Regions from separate parts of the Homo sapiens genome. Here regions 2, 3, 4 and 5 are each linked to region 1. The links are contacts of gene promoters, found by promoter capture Hi-C in blood cells and fetal thymus (Javierre and others, 2016). All regions are on one chromosome and are shown on one strand. Each heading gives the region's core, a stretch centred on a gene start or on the middle of the fragment in contact. The rest is flanking DNA. Distances are from core to core; before and after follow the strand shown.

The links. The method cuts DNA at HindIII sites, captures the fragments that hold promoters and counts their contacts. A CHiCAGO score of 5 or more calls a contact.
Region 2: a fragment that was not itself captured here is called in contact with the fragment with the promoter of FNDC9 in region 1 in 1 of 17 cell types (neutrophils); the score reaches 6.1 in neutrophils.
Region 3: a fragment that was not itself captured here is called in contact with the fragment with the promoter of FNDC9 in region 1 in 2 of 17 cell types (neutrophils and naive B cells); the score reaches 5.7 in neutrophils.
Region 4: a contact is called between a fragment that was not itself captured here and the fragment with the promoter of FNDC9 in region 1, in 1 of 17 cell types (naive B cells). The highest score is 5.6, in naive B cells.
Region 5: a contact is called between a fragment that was not itself captured here and the fragment with the promoter of FNDC9 in region 1, in 1 of 17 cell types (M2 macrophages). The highest score is 6.5, in M2 macrophages.

Annotation. Positions count from the first base shown.
Region 1 is chr5:157,344,102-157,347,315 of GRCh38, forward strand. FNDC9 (fibronectin type III domain containing 9) reads right to left here and starts at 1,576. Exons shown (of 2, transcript NM_001001343.4): 1 at 1,440-1,576. All of the region lies in intron 23 of CYFIP2 (cytoplasmic FMR1 interacting protein 2), which reads left to right. The HindIII fragment of the contact is 2,139 bases long and covers 18-2,156 here.
Region 2 is chr5:159,202,436-159,205,649 of GRCh38, forward strand. It overlaps RNF145 (ring finger protein 145), which reads right to left. Exons shown (of 11, transcript NM_001199383.2): 2 at 999-1,221. The coding sequence starts at 1,182. Among named protein-coding and RNA genes, the nearest start is that of RNF145, 5.5 kb to the right of the region's middle. The HindIII fragment of the contact is 2,049 bases long and covers 644-2,692 here.
Region 3 is chr5:159,175,018-159,178,231 of GRCh38, forward strand. It overlaps RNF145 (ring finger protein 145), which reads right to left. Exons shown (of 11, transcript NM_001199383.2): 5 at 1,615-1,850. Among named protein-coding and RNA genes, the nearest start is that of RNF145, 33 kb to the right of the region's middle. The HindIII fragment of the contact is 1,873 bases long and covers 716-2,588 here.
Region 4 is chr5:159,144,939-159,148,152 of GRCh38, forward strand. No RefSeq gene overlaps it. Among named protein-coding and RNA genes, the nearest start is that of LINC02202, 46 kb to the left of the region's middle. The HindIII fragment of the contact is 292 bases long and covers 1,599-1,890 here.
Region 5 is chr5:159,125,384-159,128,597 of GRCh38, forward strand. No RefSeq gene overlaps it. Among named protein-coding and RNA genes, the nearest start is that of LINC02202, 27 kb to the left of the region's middle. The HindIII fragment of the contact is 1,223 bases long and covers 854-2,076 here.

The sequences.
Region 1 (3,214 bases), core at 326-2,825:
AGCTGATCTCACCCCAAAGCTTCTGCTCTTGTTTTGTTTGTTTGTTTTTTCAAAGCCAGCGGTACCAGGAAATTTATTTTATGGGTGAAGATAATCAGCCCCTAATATCAGCATAACTACCACTATTTAATTCTGCTGTTATTATGAATGTTAATCATGGTAATAACCACTCACAGTAAGTGGTTGCTATGTCACTTGTCATGCTAGATGATTCACAGGCAGTAATTAATTTCCTTTATTCTTCATCACATCCTCTGAGCTAGATTCCCATTTTACGGATGAGCAACCTGATGTCACACCGCTAATACGTAGAAAAAGGACTTAGTGCCGCCTAACCACTACATTTCCTAATGCAAGGCTGCCGGGTTTAGTTACAGACGTTATCGCAAAATGAGGTGCCAGGACTGAGACCCAGTTGCTGTTTTTCCAGACAAATCAAATGAGCCCTCTTTAGATTGCCAGGCCCCGCTTTGATAAGAGAGAGCCATCTTCAAGTATTTTAGTTTCTCTCATGCAGTTCCCTCTACTGATTGCCCCTGATCAGAAATACAGAGACAGTCATAGTCAGCCTACGCATATTCACATAACAGTCTCACCCTGCTTTGTCTTCCGCCTCTCCTCCCTCACATGAAACCCCGTAGGTTTCATTTTGGGTTGCAGTGACATAGTAAACAGCTGTCAACTGGATTTTCGCCTGCATTGGATATTAAGCCAAACCAATGGCTATTATGACCTGCCTTTCTCTCACCTCTGCTTTCCCCCATCCTCTTGTGTTTGTGCCCATTTTCCTCCAGGAGTGGAGCTGCAGAAAGGTGCACAGCATTGAGTAGTTTCTTAATCCTTGTTTTTCTTCTGTAAGGGTAACAGTGAACTAAGATACTCAGGAAGGTGAATAGTGTCTTTCTATGTGGCTGAATATTTCTTCCCAGTAAATAGGGAACGAAAGGGATGAGACGGATGTGCTCAGACCCTTCCAGGGAAGGTCATCATGAAGGAGACCGAATGTTTATGTTTCCTAGCTTGGTGTCCTCTACACACTCATCCTCCCCACACCACACATCACTATAAATACACTTTCGACCACGATGAAAAGAGCTTAATTCATTATAGGCAGCCACCTGTGTAAAACCTTTCCATCAGGAGTAATCAGGAATCCTGTTTCTTGTCACGCACAAATGTTCTCTTGGCTTCCTATCTGCCACTAGCTGTCTGTACAGATGGAATTACCTCAGCAGACATTTTTAAGAGCTTTCTGTCAAGACGCAAATAGCATCCTCACCTTTTAGGACCAGGTCCGTCTCCCTTATTGATTTTTCTTCCTCTGTTTCCGTTTCTAAATTCTCCCCTATTTTTAACTATTCATTTGCCCGGCCCTTCTCCAAGCAGAGTGTGAAAAGAAGCCATTTCCATTTCCAAGAAGAGCCATCTATATGTCTTACCTGATGCTTGCAGCGTGTCTGGTTAGAGCTCTGCCCTCCGAGGTGCAGTAGATTAAAGCTGAGAGAATGGGGCCTTCTCCCTCCTCTGCTCTGGGCTTTCCGTGTTGTTTCTCTCAACACTGAGTAATCCCACTGCCGCCCCTAATGCTCACATTATTCATTTCTTCAGATCAGCATCATTCACCATGGCAACCAGCAGGCATCTGTACGCACGATGCTTTCAGGGACCAGCCTGGAAAGGCTTTTGCCCAGTGAGAGGAGCTCTCATTCCTTTGGCTGAAAAAGGGCAGATGATCCCCTGAAAACTGGTCCCCAGTGCAGTACTAATTCTTCTAACACTCCTACATTTTCTCCCCAGTTGGCTGATTATTATTTTCTTGTCCCATCTAGATCCTCTTTGGCCAATGGTTTTAAATGCAAAGATGCTTTTCTCAGTTATTCCACAACCAAAGCAGTAATATTCATCTTCATCCCCTCCCACCCCTACACTTCCCCATCCCAACTGCCTACCCCACCTCTTTATCTTCATCTTTCTTTATTCTTGACTCATGTGCCATTACATAGTTATATGGTACTGGTCAAGACCCTTTTATTTTTATTGTCTGAGTCTCAGTTCCACCATCATCTGTAAAGCTGTGGGCTTGGGCTACATCAGGATGGCAGATCAGAAGGCAGAAGACCTGAGCCCTATCCCTGCACAGCCCTGAACCCCTGTCAAGCTTGCTAAACCATCATGGCACTCTCACTGGGTTGAATAATGCCCCCCCAAAATACATATCCATCCAGAACCTTAGGATGTGACCTGATTTAGAAATAGAGCCTTCGTAGATATAACTAGTTAAGGATCTCAAGATGAAATCTTCCTGGATTTAAGGGTGAGCCCTAAATCCAATGACTAATGTCTTTGTAAGAGAAAAGACAGAGAGACTCAAGGGGAAGAAGCCAAGGGAAAACAGAGGCAGAGAGTGGAAGGATGCTGCCATCAGCCAAGGAACACCGGGAGCCATCAGCAGCTGGGAAGGCAAGGAAACATTCTCCCCTAGAGCCTTGGAGAGGGCATGGTTCTGCGAGAGCCTTGATTTCAGGCTTCTGGTCTCCAGAACTGTGAGAGAATAAATTTCTGTCATGTTAAGCTGCCACATTTATGGTAATTTGTGATAGCAACCCTAGGAATCTAATGCAGCACTGCTTCCAGCTGGGTGCAGAAACAGCCCCAGAGTTCCTCTGAACACAAGCGTCCCAAGAAACTGCTTCCCAATCAATCAGTTGGAGTTGACGCCAGAAATGGAAACTGTTTGCTACTCCTGGATTGAATCATCCCCAGCGTTCCTTTCCTTTCAAGAATCCAGACTGCTTGCCTCCCCTTTTCTCATAAAGGGCCGTCTGGCTTTGAGGTTCCATCCCTTCCTGTTCCTTTCAACCTTGTAAGAACCCATTGCCACCATTCTATTGAGATCACAGGGTGTGTCTGGAATAGAGGGTGGAAAGTAGCTCAGATAGATGTAGACCTGAATAAATTTATACACATTATATGTTTTTAAAAGTCAGCTTTTCTCTTCTTGGTTCTTGGCCAAAGTATCCAAGTTAACCCATGAAGGTCTCTTTCTGATTCACATTAATGATAAAAGGTTAGGAAGAAAGCCAGGCACAGCTGCAGTGGTGTGCACCTGTAGTCCCAGCCACTTGGGAGGCTGAGGTGGGAGGATCACTTGAGCTTAAGAGTTCCAGACCAGCCTGGGTATTATAGAAAGACTTTTTCCCTTGGAAAAAAAAAA
Region 2 (3,214 bases), core at 418-2,917, 1.9 Mb after region 1:
AGATGAGTTTACTGAACCGAAACGTTTTGTTTCTAGTGCACCATCTCTTCTACTACATCATACTTCTTTCCACAACAGCTTACCTCTTAGGGATGTAAGGGGAACGTTCTCAGGGCTAAGTTTTAGAACCCAGAAAGTGATAAAAATAAATCTCAGAGAGACAGGACAACTCTTCATGACTTTATAAAAGATATATTTTGTGACAGGCAACTCTAATAATAAAATATTAGCAAAACCACTATAGTACCATTCAAACCATGTCTGGAACTCTGCAATCACAACATTAATAAAATATATTGCTATATACATTACAAATAAACCAAAACCTAAAAAGTAAGGATCATGATTTTTATTCTAGGTAAATTTTATCTGTTTCATGCTTGTATTTCTTGACTTTAATTTCTTCAATCTCTTATCATTATTTTTACCACTAACCCCATAGCATATCAATGATAGTTCCATTTTTCTTGAAAGGGGATTCAAGCAAAAAAAAAAAAAATTATAGTTCCAGGAGGATTTTTTTTATGGAACAAAGTATTATAGTATCATTTCCCAAATTTCATTTAACTGAACACTTTATCTTCAGCTGATGTTAATGTTTTCGTTTATCTCAGGGAACAATAAAGAATGTTGCATTTTAAAAAGCTTACTTTCTGAATTACTACCAAACCCCAAAACAAGGACAAATTAGAAGGGGCCAAATGTCTCTAAAAGTATTTCTCATTGTTTATATTTCATCATATTAAAATCTAGAATGTTTTCTTCTGCCTTCCAGTTTTATCCAGTAAAATAAATCCAATACTGCTTACTTTCTTGTAGCCTTAATAATTCATGTGCAATGATAAGACAAAACTATCAAGATTCATAAACACTCATCAATAACTATATCACTATCATCTTAATGAAAATGAACTTCATTTTACCCAAATTCAAAAAGATACTAAGACATAAATCAGAATGCTCACTAGAAGATTAGAAAATGTGATGTAGACACTCACCTACATAATGCATATTAAGAGCCAAATACTTATACTGGAAAAGAGGGTTATTACTAAGGCTACTTCTTTGGATCTGCTGGAAAAAGGAGCTGACATCCCATCTGTACAGGACATCCAACAGCATGATGCTTGGCACCCTCAGGGCCACATTTAACACTGCCTCCAGTTTCTCCTTTGCAGCCATGTTGTTTTTTTTTTTCTTTTTTTTTTTCTTGGAGAAGACCTAAAATTCAGAAGACACAATATATAAAAATAAAAAGTCAACACAAATCGCTTTTAGATACCCTTTCACGAATCTAATAGGTTGTCACACACTGTACAAAACTATGTGAGAACGTATACTACTTCTCAGCCACAACTACTATTTTTAGATATTCATAAAATAACCTCTGTATTGTGTTTTCACATTGACCCATTCAGTTCTGTCCAATCTTATAATTCTGATTAAATGTTCTGGCCTCAAAACTAATTTTTTAAAAGGCCACTAACTCCAAATCTAGGAACAAAACACTCTGTAAGACTACTGTAACTTGTATAAAATTAACTTGAAAAATTCACTCACTCCAATAAAACTATGATTTATGTAGCTCATAAGAGGGTGAATTTTGAATATTTACTCTATGAAAAAGCCTAAGCAATTCAATAAAAACTTGATAACTGCACGTTTAGTTTGCAGCATCTTGTACTCTATGCTTTTCCTTATTCACTTACAATCAAAATTGAAGTGCTAAATTTACAATCCAGAGAACTCATGATGTAGATACAGGTAGAGGGAACATTATTTACAATATCATTTCCTTGAATCTTTAAAGTTAAATATGGTCTAAAATTCCCATAATCTGCCTTCAAGTGTTCATCAAATTCTTCCCTTGATACACAGATAAGCAGGCACATGGAAGACGCCAGGCATTGAGTCTGCAGCCCCTGTCTCTGCACAGACCATGATAAGTAGTGGGGGGGGGCAGGGGGAGGAGGAAATGAAAGGCAGTTATCAGGACAATTTACTATTTAAAGGGACAATTCAATGCCATACTGCTTTATATGGTAGAACTTCAAATTAATCCAAAAAAATATAAAATAGGGCAAACAAGGCCGGGCGCAGTGGCACACGCCTGTAATCCCAGCACTTTGGGAAGCCGAAGCAGGCAGATCATGAGGTCACGAGTTCGAGACCAGCCTAGCCAATATGGTGAAACTCCGTCTGTACTAAAAATACAAAAATTAGCCGGGCATGGTGGTGCACACCTGTAGTCCCAGCTACTCAGGAGGCTAGGGCAGAAGAATTGCTTGAACCTGGGATGCAGAGGTTGCAGTGAGCAGAGATCACAATACTGCACTCCAGCCTAGGCAACTGAGCTAGACTCCGTCTCAAAAAAAAAAAAAAAAAAAAAAAAGCAAACAAAAGTGGGTAAAGAACAATTTAAAGAGTAAAGATAATTCTGGATTGTTGGCTCTGACAATATCCTTTTAAGAATTTTGCTGAGAAAGCTAAACACATTTCCAGCTTTAGCAGTAATTTCAGACATTACAGGACAAACGAAAACATTTATTTCTGCAGAAAATTATAGTGACAGATTGCTATGCTATGGTTAAATATTTGTCAGTATTTCCATCTTACCCTCCAATTTTCATAGCTTCCTAGTTCAGATAGTCAAAAAGCTAAAGGCAACCCAACTTGGCACACTATCAATAAAAGCTTTTCAATAATCATATATCAACCATTCCCATAACCCAAATGTTTTATATATATAGCCTGCCAATAATATAGATTTAACATTTTTATAGATAAGTACTGCAATTCTGATTATTTCACATGAACAAGATCATTTTCATAATTTTCCTACATAAGAAAAAATATTATTGTGAAAATCAGAACTAAATATCATGTCCTAAGAAGGAAAAATGCACTGAAAAATAAAATCTCTAACCTTTAATATTTATTGCAAACCAACCACTGAGGAATCTAAATTTCTCAAAGCCCATGATATTATTATTTTTTCTAATCCCAGGAAAAAATACACCAAAACATTCACAGAAATTGTTGGTAAAGAGTTTAATGCATTTTAATGTGTATAAGCCATCTAGATAACTTCAGGAATTACAGTGGAAAGACTTACTTTGGTGAGCAAACTGATAACCCAATACCCTCTTGGGAATTTATTTCAAAGTAATATTGAATAGATCTTCTCACAAACCACCAGCCACCATATTTGAAA
Region 3 (3,214 bases), core at 402-2,901, 1.8 Mb after region 1:
CTGGAATCTCTCAATGTGATACCAGAATGTTTCAATAAGGTATAAACATCTTTAAGTATTAAGTTAAAATAAATTGACTTGCAGATTATTCTAAATTTAAAATTCTTTCATCAGTAAAGCAAAGGCTTTTTCTACAACCCAGTCTATTAACTTCTATTTTCCCCAGTGACAAAAGATTAAAAGAAAAAGGAAACTGCCCAACTAGCTGCAAAATTATTATCAGGTAAACTCATCATTACGAGGCAGAGAATATTTTTCTTCCTTTCCATTCAAGAAACAGACCACTAAAAAAACCTGTCTGTTTCCATTTCTTGCTTATCTGATTCTTTCCTGGTCACGCATTTTATAACCTATATTTCCAACAACTACATCTAGTTGATGTATGAATCTTATGGCAACCAACTAAACATGACATTAAAAAATGAAGGCTGAGGTTATTCAATAAATATTTAATATTCAATAAGTATTTACTGAATATTCATTATTTATTACAAACAAAGATAACCCTCATAAGACTGAATTCAAAGAAAAAATATGTATCTTAAATTTGTCATTATTACCCTGAATACAACTATAACCCTTCCTGCCCTGCTTCCCCATGAAGCCACTCTTCACTGACTGTAGAAATAATCCCTTTTCTGGAAGATCTACTCCTGGGAAAACTGCCCAAGTTAATCACTGTGTAAGACGAAGATAGAATCAGGCTAAGGCCAAAAGCTTAGAGAAAGTATTCTCAAAGATCTGCCCCTGGGGCCACAAGAGAATACTTCACTTAGCTGTTATCAGTTTGTTCTATCTGAGAGCTTCCTGTACCTTAAGGACACAGTCAAGAGGTGGAAGACAGTGACATTTTAACACTCTCTTTTTATACCAATGTCAGGTTAAAATCTATTTTATATATTACAAACTATCAATTAAACCAAACAGAAACATTTATTTCCCAAATGTGTATTGTTTGTATCTGGGAGTAATTTATCTTAGAGCAAAGGCTGAAAAAAGTAGGGAAGAAACTTTTACAAAAAGCATGTTATGTTGGCAAAGTCAATTCAAGTACTATATCTAAATGAAATCTATCATATTATAACCCAGAACTATTTAACTTTTCTGTTTAAATTAGGCACACAAAGGGAAGAAACTATAGTCACAGTAGGACTATAATCAGAAGGAAAAAGCAGGATTTGACTTATAGGTATTCAATTCTTTATTATTTTTGTCTTCATTACAATAGCTAACACATATGGAACATTGTCTGCCTGGTACTAAACTCATTTAAATCTCACAGAACTCTATGAGGAAAGCACAGCTTTCATTATTAGCTCCGTTTTACAGAAAGTAACGCAATTATCACAAGGTTACACAGCTAGTGAACAGCAGCATCAGGGTTCGATCTCAGATAAATCTGCTTTAAGAGAACCACTTCACTTTACTGCCTTCTCAATAGAACATAATCAAGAATCTTTCAGATGCTCCTAATTGGGCTGAAAATAGCAGCTGTTTTGAAACTGCAAAAATGAATGGTACCATAACTGTGAAATAAAAATGAACTATAACTTTAATGTACTTAACATTTATGTAGAATTTTATCTACCTGTTTGTGGTTGTCAGCAGTCTTACCTGAACCAATTCTCTGTATGCAGATTTAGCAAGGTTATAAGGTACCAAAAGATTAGACCCAAGAAAATAGAGAACTTCCAATCCAGTAAAAATCATAGCAAATTTATTGATGATAACAATTGTCTCCAAAGGAACAAGGCAGAGTCGTGCTAGCAGAGGAAGCATGTGAGCTGAAAACAGCCAAATCTGCTTTGTTTTCATGACACAGGAGCATAAAGTACACACCACCAACTGACCTAAAATAGGGAATAGAATACATTTAATTTTGAGTATTTGGCATCCACAAAATAAAAACAAACAAAAAACACTGTTGATAAGGATAATAACACAACTTTTGAAGAAGTCTAACTAAAATCTCGTAGATAATATTTTAAATCAAACTTAAACTTCATCTGACTATAATTACATATTCACATGTTCTGTGAATTTTGAATACTAATTCTGTAGGGCTGATCTGGAAAGAGCAGCATAAATCTCCACTGGTCGTCTGTGATGCCATGTGTAATATGAAGAAAACTTTAAACAATGTCTAATTCAGTATTGTGACAATTCAGTTGCTAATGTTTATACATAACTTCTTTTCCAAAGGTACGCAATATTTAACTGTTCTGGTCTATAGGTGAAAGCATAAAATCCAAGAGATATAATTACTTGTTCAAGATCATACTGCAACAATATTTGTTCTGATAATTTTTTAATCTTTATTTTTGGAGGGCCAAGTAAACTGCCCCAAATAACTAAATCATAAGTTAAAACTAAAAACTAAATAAATTCTTCTCACTGGGGATTACGCATGATCATTACATTAAACACAGAAATACAAAGAACAAAATGGGAAACTCTCAGTCTCTTATAATCCCACAACCCAAAGGTAGTCCTAAGAACACCCTGGGGTACACTGAATGTATGTGACATGATATTTGCATTTAGCCCTTTCCAAATATTCCATAATTATAAAATGCTTTGTATGAATAAGCTTTTACATTATGACATCCTTGTATAAACTACTTGGAACACATTTCCTAATATTCTCTTAGGCTAGGAATTACTGAATCAGAAAAAAACATTTTTAAAGACTTTGACACACTGTCAAGACTGCCCTCCAGCAACAATTTACCAGTGTATAATGTGGCTATTTTTCTATTAACTTGCCATAGTGAGTATAATTTAGAGATGGGAAGAACAGGGAATATTTCCCAAATTTTTTAAATTGGCATTTTGTTGGTTACTAACAGCACTGAACATTATCAATAAGTATATGAAAACATTTGCAATTATTTGGTGAAATGTTCACATTCTTTGCCCATTTTTCTGCTAGAATACGTATCCTACTGCCTGATCGAAATAGTAATCCTTAGTCACATGATTGCATTTTTCTAATATGTCCCTTGTCTTAATATTTTAAATAACTTTATTCTCTTATAAAAGTATGTATTGAAAATAGTCAAACCATTTTTTTTCTTAATAGTACCCACCTTTAGTGCCATGGCTTATTACATGGCTACCCCACTCAAGATTATACAAATAGCTGTATTTTCTTTTAGTAATTTTTAGCTAATTTTTAATTTTAACTTAAAAATTAATACATTTGATTTATTGT
Region 4 (3,214 bases), core at 495-2,994, 1.8 Mb after region 1:
CTCATCATCACTGGTCATCAGAGAAATGCAAATCAAAACCACAGTGAGATGCCATCTCACGCCAGTTAGAATGGTGATCATTAAAAAGTCAGGAAACAACAGATGCCGGAGAGGATGTGGAGAAATAGGAAGGTTTTTACACTGTTGGTGGGAGGGTAAATTAGTTCAACCATTGTGGAAGACAGTGTGGCGATTCCTCAAGGATCTAGAACTAGAAATACCATTTCACTCAGCCATCCCATTACTGGGTATATACCCAAAGGATTATAAATCATGCTACTATAAAGACACATGCTCATGTATGTTTATTGCAGCACTATTCACAATAGCAAAGACTTGGAACCAACCTAAATGTCCATCAATGATAGACTGGATTAAGAAAATGTGGCACATATACACCATGGAATACTATGCAGCCATAAAAAAGGATGACTTCATGTCCTTTGCAGGGACATGGATGAAGCTGGAAACCATCATTCTCAGCAAACTATCACAAGGACAGAAAACAAAACAGCGCATGTTCTCACTCATAGGTGGGAATTGAACAATGAGAACACTTGGACACAGGGTGGGGGACATCAAATGCCAGGGCCTGTCAGGGGGTGGGTGGCTGGGGGAGGGATAGCATTAGGAGAAATACCTAATGTAAATGACAAGTTGATGTGTGCAGCAAACCAACGTGGCACATGTATACCTATGTATCAAACCTGCACATTGTGCACATATACCCTAAAACTTAAAGTATAATAATAATAAAAAAAAGCAACTACCAAAAAGGAATAATGATCTTCAGGGGTCACGGATAACATAAATGTTGGGATCTGGGTAGGACCTAGTGAACTGGGTGGGTGGGAGGGAGTAAGTGCCTGTTAAAGGGCAGAAGCCCCTGGGCTCCTGATGAATATTATGGTGGAAATGGGCTGAGACCTTCTAATTTTTCCAAAGAATCCAGGAATCCATACTTTTTGTGTGAAATCTCACCTTTTTTATTTTTTCGAGACAGTGTCTCACTGTGTCACCCAGGCTGGAGTGCAGTGGTGTGATCACAGCTCATTGCGGCCTCCCTCAACGTCATGGGCTCAAGCAATTCCCTCAGCCTCCCAAGTAGATGGAACCACAGGTGTGCACCACCACACCAGCTAATTTTTGCATTTTTTACAGAGACCAGGTCTCCCTGTGTGGCCCAGCCTGGTCTTGAACTTCTGGCCTCAAGTGATACTTCCACCTCAGCCTCCCAAAGTGGGAGTTCATACTTAGCATAGTGGTTCATAGAAGTATGAACTACCATACACAGCCTGATTTTTAAATGTTCAATTTTTTTAGAATCACCATCCAAGCAAAACAAAAGAAGTTTGCCAGTCAGATTCAGCTCACAGATGCCAGTTCGCCAGGTCTGAGCCCCAAAATTAGCAGCAGCATGAAAGTCATTGAACTTGCCTGATGCTGATTTAAGAGAAGATTGGTTGTTGAGAATACCAAGGTTCAGAGTGGAGGAAATCATGCTACAAACCAGGCACACTGTCGCGAGAAGATCTATCTCAGGTGTCAACGGCAACAGAACAGCAAAGTGCTGATCTCTTGGGACACTGTGATTCCCAAGCTTTGGTGCACGCTGGAATCACTAAGGGAGCTTCTAAGAATTCCCGTCCCTAGCCCAACAAAATTAGAATGTCTGGGTGTAGGACCCCAGGTGATCTCAATGTGCAGCAAAGTTTGAGAACCACTATGCTAAGGGACTCTCTCTTGAGTCTGAGAACCTGTCTCCACAGTGTTGATAAAGCTGGTTTTGGGGGAGCGGCGGGTATGCCTCACAGAAGGCAAGGCAGTATACTCAGTTGTAAAGATTTGAAGGTTTTCCCACATCTGGTGAAAAGGAATCTGGGAGCGACAAGCTTAAATCCATCCTTAGTGACTGAATTTACGAGCAGTGGACTTTGCCAACAGCCATGGTTAGGTAGAAAAGTTTGGTGCTCCTTTAAAAAAATAATCACACTTTATTGTTATCATTTAACTGTGAGTCTTCCAAGTGCCCCATGAGAGTTCTGTGAGGGCAGGGGTGATGTCTGGTGTTAGTCTGCATCTGGTTCCTAAGGGCTACTTACAAATGTGTATTGGTGAGATGCCATGGAGACGTAGGGAAAGCAAGCTACTAGCTGGGAACAGGGAGGGCTTGCGGGTGGGACTCTGGAGAAAATGCCAGGTGTCTATATCAAAGAACAGGGGTGGGAGGTCTTCGGGGTGGGGGTCACCTTGTGGCAGCTACTGAATGAATGAAACTGGTGAAGTCCCCAGCACATAAAAGCATCCAGGAGTTACTTCCTAAGATGCTTTCCCTACTACCGCCTCCAATTTTAAGTGCAAGAATGAAAAATCCAAAAAATACGTGTCTGTGAATAAACACTGTAATGTATTGCTTAAGTGGATTCTGAAGCCAGACTGTGTAGGTGCAAGAACTTACTGCTGTGGACTTTGAGCAAGACATCAAACTCTGCCTCAGCTTCCTCATCTGGATATGTAGATGATAATGCCTACAGGGGGTTCTAAGGAGTTCATGAGTTATTCATAAAGGGATTAGAAGGCCACAGAGTGTGAGCTATTCTTTTCTTGGAGACTATCAGTAAAAAGGATATAGTTTGCTAATTATCAGATAAATGAAAATCAAAACCACAATGAGATATCATCTCACACCTGTTATAATAGAATCTCTATTATCAAAAAGTCAGAGGCTGGGCACGGTGGCTCATGTCTGTAATCCCAGCACTTTGGGAGGCCGAGGCAGACAGATCACCTGAAGTCAGGAGTTTGAGACCAGCGTGGCCAACACGGTGAAACCCCGTCTCTACTAAAAATACAAATGTTAGCCTGGTGTGGTGGCTAGTGCCTGTAATCCCAGCTACTGGGGAAGCGTGGGGGAGAGAATTGCTTGAACCTGGGAGGCAGAGGTTGCAGTGAGCCGAGATCGCGCCACTGTACTCCAGCCTAGGCAACAAGAGTGAGACTCCGTCTCAAAAAAAAAAAAAAAAAGTCAGAAGATAACAAGAGTTACCAAGAATATGGAGAAAAGGGAGCCCTTGTAATCCGTTGATGGGAATGTAAACTTGCACAGCCATATGAAAAACAGTATGGAGATTCCTCAAAAAATTAAAAATAGAACTACCACATCATCCAGCAATCCTATCTGGGTATATATCCAAAGGAAATGAGATCAGTAGCC
Region 5 (3,214 bases), core at 215-2,714, 1.8 Mb after region 1:
TTAATTCTGTCAAATTTTGCTTTATGTGTTTTGAAGCTCTATTATTTGGTGCATAGAGATTTATAATTGTTATATTTTCTGAATGTATTACCATTTTATTATTATAACATGTCCTTTTGTCTCTGATAATATTTCTTATTTTAAAGATTATTTTGTCTGATAAAAGCCATTCCAACCCTATGGTTAATGTTTACATGGTATATTATTTCCATCCTTTTCTTTTAACCTATTTGTGCCTTTGAACCTAAAACAGATCTCTTATAGATAGCATATAATTGGCTCTTGCTTTTTCATTCAGTCTGACAATCTCTGCCTTTTGAGTGGAGTATTTAGTGAGTGTTTAGTCCAATCATGTTTAATGTAACTGTTGATAATCTTTGCATTTATGTTAGCCATTTTGCTGTGTGTTGTTTGTCTCATGTATTTCCTTTGTTCCTGCTTTACTGCCTCCTTTTGTGTTAAATAAATATTTTTAATGTGTCATTTTTAATTCCTCTGTGTACATTTTACTATATGTCATTTAGGTGTTTTCTTAGTGGTTGTATTAGGGTTTACAATATGCACTTCAACTTATCACAATCTACTTCAGAATAATACTAAGTCATTTCTGGTAAAATATAGAAACATTGCTCTAATACAGGGGTTTCCAATTTTTTGACTTCCCTGGGCCACATTGGAAGACAAAGTGTCTTGGGCCACACATAAAATCCAATAACACTAATGATAGCTAATGAGCTTTAAAAAAATTCCATGCATAAATCTCATAATGTTTTAAGAAAGCTTACAAATTTGTGTTGGGCCACATTTAAAGCCATCCTGGGCTGTATGTGGCCCACAGACCATGGGGTGGATAAGCTTGCTCTAATATATCTCTTTTTTCCCCCTTCATTAGTGCTATTATGTTGTATAGATTATGTCTCTACATTAACTCTATACAACTAGATTGTTATAAGTATTGCCTTATACAGTCTTGTATCATTTAAAGAAATTAAAAGAAAAATGAGAAAAACTTATTTCTAGAGACTTTTACAATTTCCCACATATTTGTTATTTCTGACATTCTTCGCTTATTCTTTAGGATTACAGCTATTTTCTGTTGTCACTTTTTTTCAGCCTAACAGACCTTTTCTGTATTTTTGTAAAGCAGCTCTGCTAGTGAGGAATTCTTTCAATATTCATTTATTTCCGGAACATCTTTATTTTTGTATTCACTTTTGAAGGATAATTTTGTTTGATGTAGAATTCTAAGTTTGCAGGCTTTTAAAAAATTTTCCTATCAGCACTTTGAATATAGCTTTCTACTGCTTTTCTGGCCTCCATTCTTTCTGATAGGAAATCAGATGTTACTAGGATTCTTGTTCCTCTGTGTTGTGGGGTTTTTTTATGTTTTTGAGATTTTCTCTTTGTATTTATTTTTCAACAGGTTAATTCTGAGGTGTCTAAGGAGGATCTTTTTGTGTATATCCTACTTGAAATTCTTTGAAGTTCTTGGATCTGTACATTAATATATTTTCATCAAATTTGAAATGTTTTTGGCCATTACTTTTAGGTGTTTTTCTATCTCATTTTCCTTTCCATCTCTTTCTGAGACTCCCATTACACCTAGGTTGGTACATTTAATATTATTCCACAGGTCTATAGGATTGTCTATTTCTCTTTCATCTTTTTTCTCCCTATTTTTCAGATTCGGTAATTTTCACTGCTCTCTTTTCAAATTCCTGGTTCTTTCTTTCTTTCTTTTTTCTTTTCTTTTTTTTTTTAAGGTCTCACTCTGTCACCCTGGCTGGTGTGCAGTGGTATGATCTCAGCTCACTGCAACCTCTGTCTCTCAGGTTCAAGCAATTCTCCTGCCTCAGCCTCCCGAGTAGCTGAGATTACAGGCGCATGCCACCATGCCTGGCCACTTTTTTTTGTATTTTTAGTAGAGACAGAGTTTCACCATGTTGGCCAGGCTGGTCTTGAACTCCTGGCCCGAAGTGATCTGCCTGTCTCAGCATCCCAAAGTGTTGGCATTACGGGCGTGAACCACCACGTTCAGCCCTAGTTCTTTCTTTTGCTAGCTCAGAATTACAGTTAAGCTTCTGTAGTAAACTTTTCATTTCAGTTAGAATTTTTAACTTCAGAATTTTCATTTGTTTTAAATAATTTTTGTCTCTTTATTGAGATTCTCTATTCAGTCATTGTTGTCATGTTTTGCTTCAATCTTTAAAAATTGTTTTCTTCAGCTCTTTGAACACATTTATAATAGCTACTTTGAAATTTTTGTCTTCTAAATTCATTATCTGGAAACACTCAGAGACAGTTTCAGTAGACTCAGTTTGGTCATCCTTTTGGTTTCTTTATATGCCTTGTAATTTTATATTGAATATTGAACATCTTAGCTAATACTGCAGCCACTCTGGATTGTGATTTTTTCCTCCTAGAGTTGTTTGTTTGTTTGTTTGTTTGTTTGTTTTTTAACTTAGTAACTTGCCTGGGCTAAATCTATAAAGCGTGTGGCCACTGTTGACTTTGATCAGTTTTTATCTTTGTTTACATTTTAAAGCCTGGATGCCTAGGAATTGCCCTTGACAGCTTAGAGTTCAGGTTAAGAATGGTCAGCAACAGCACTCAAACCCCTCAAGCCAGTGAGGCTTTCACTCTTTGCTAATGGGCTATGTGTGGAGTGGGGAGTACATTCAAAACTTAGGAAGTTTTTAAGTCAGGCTTGACTTTTATTTTCTGTTGGGCTTTCTTATTTCTCTTCTGTTCATGTGTGCAGGTTCTATTGGCCAGGCATGTGTGAATGGCCTGGGTTCAAGCTTATCTCTGTAGCACATGAGCACAGCCTCTCGTCAACACAGGATATGTGGGGAGATTACCAAGCCCCTGGGGCTATCTCATATCTGTGCGTCCCTGTTAAATCCCTGGAAGCCTCTCGGTCCACCGCTTGTCCCAAATAGGGCCATAATCTCAGACTAGCAGAGCTGCTGGCTCTCCCTATCCACTTGTTACTAAGATTGCCACTTTAACTGACAACATTCCAAATCAAGGAGCACCTTCTGGCAGCAGCAACAAGGCTGTGGGTCTCCATGACCTGGCCCCCGCTGGTTGAACTACCACCACAGAACTGGCAGGCGGGGAGGGAGGGGATGGGAGCAGCCTGGGCAACACCACCACAGACTCATGCTGTTCTTACCCAAACTTCAGGACATTTCATCAGTTTGTGGTATGC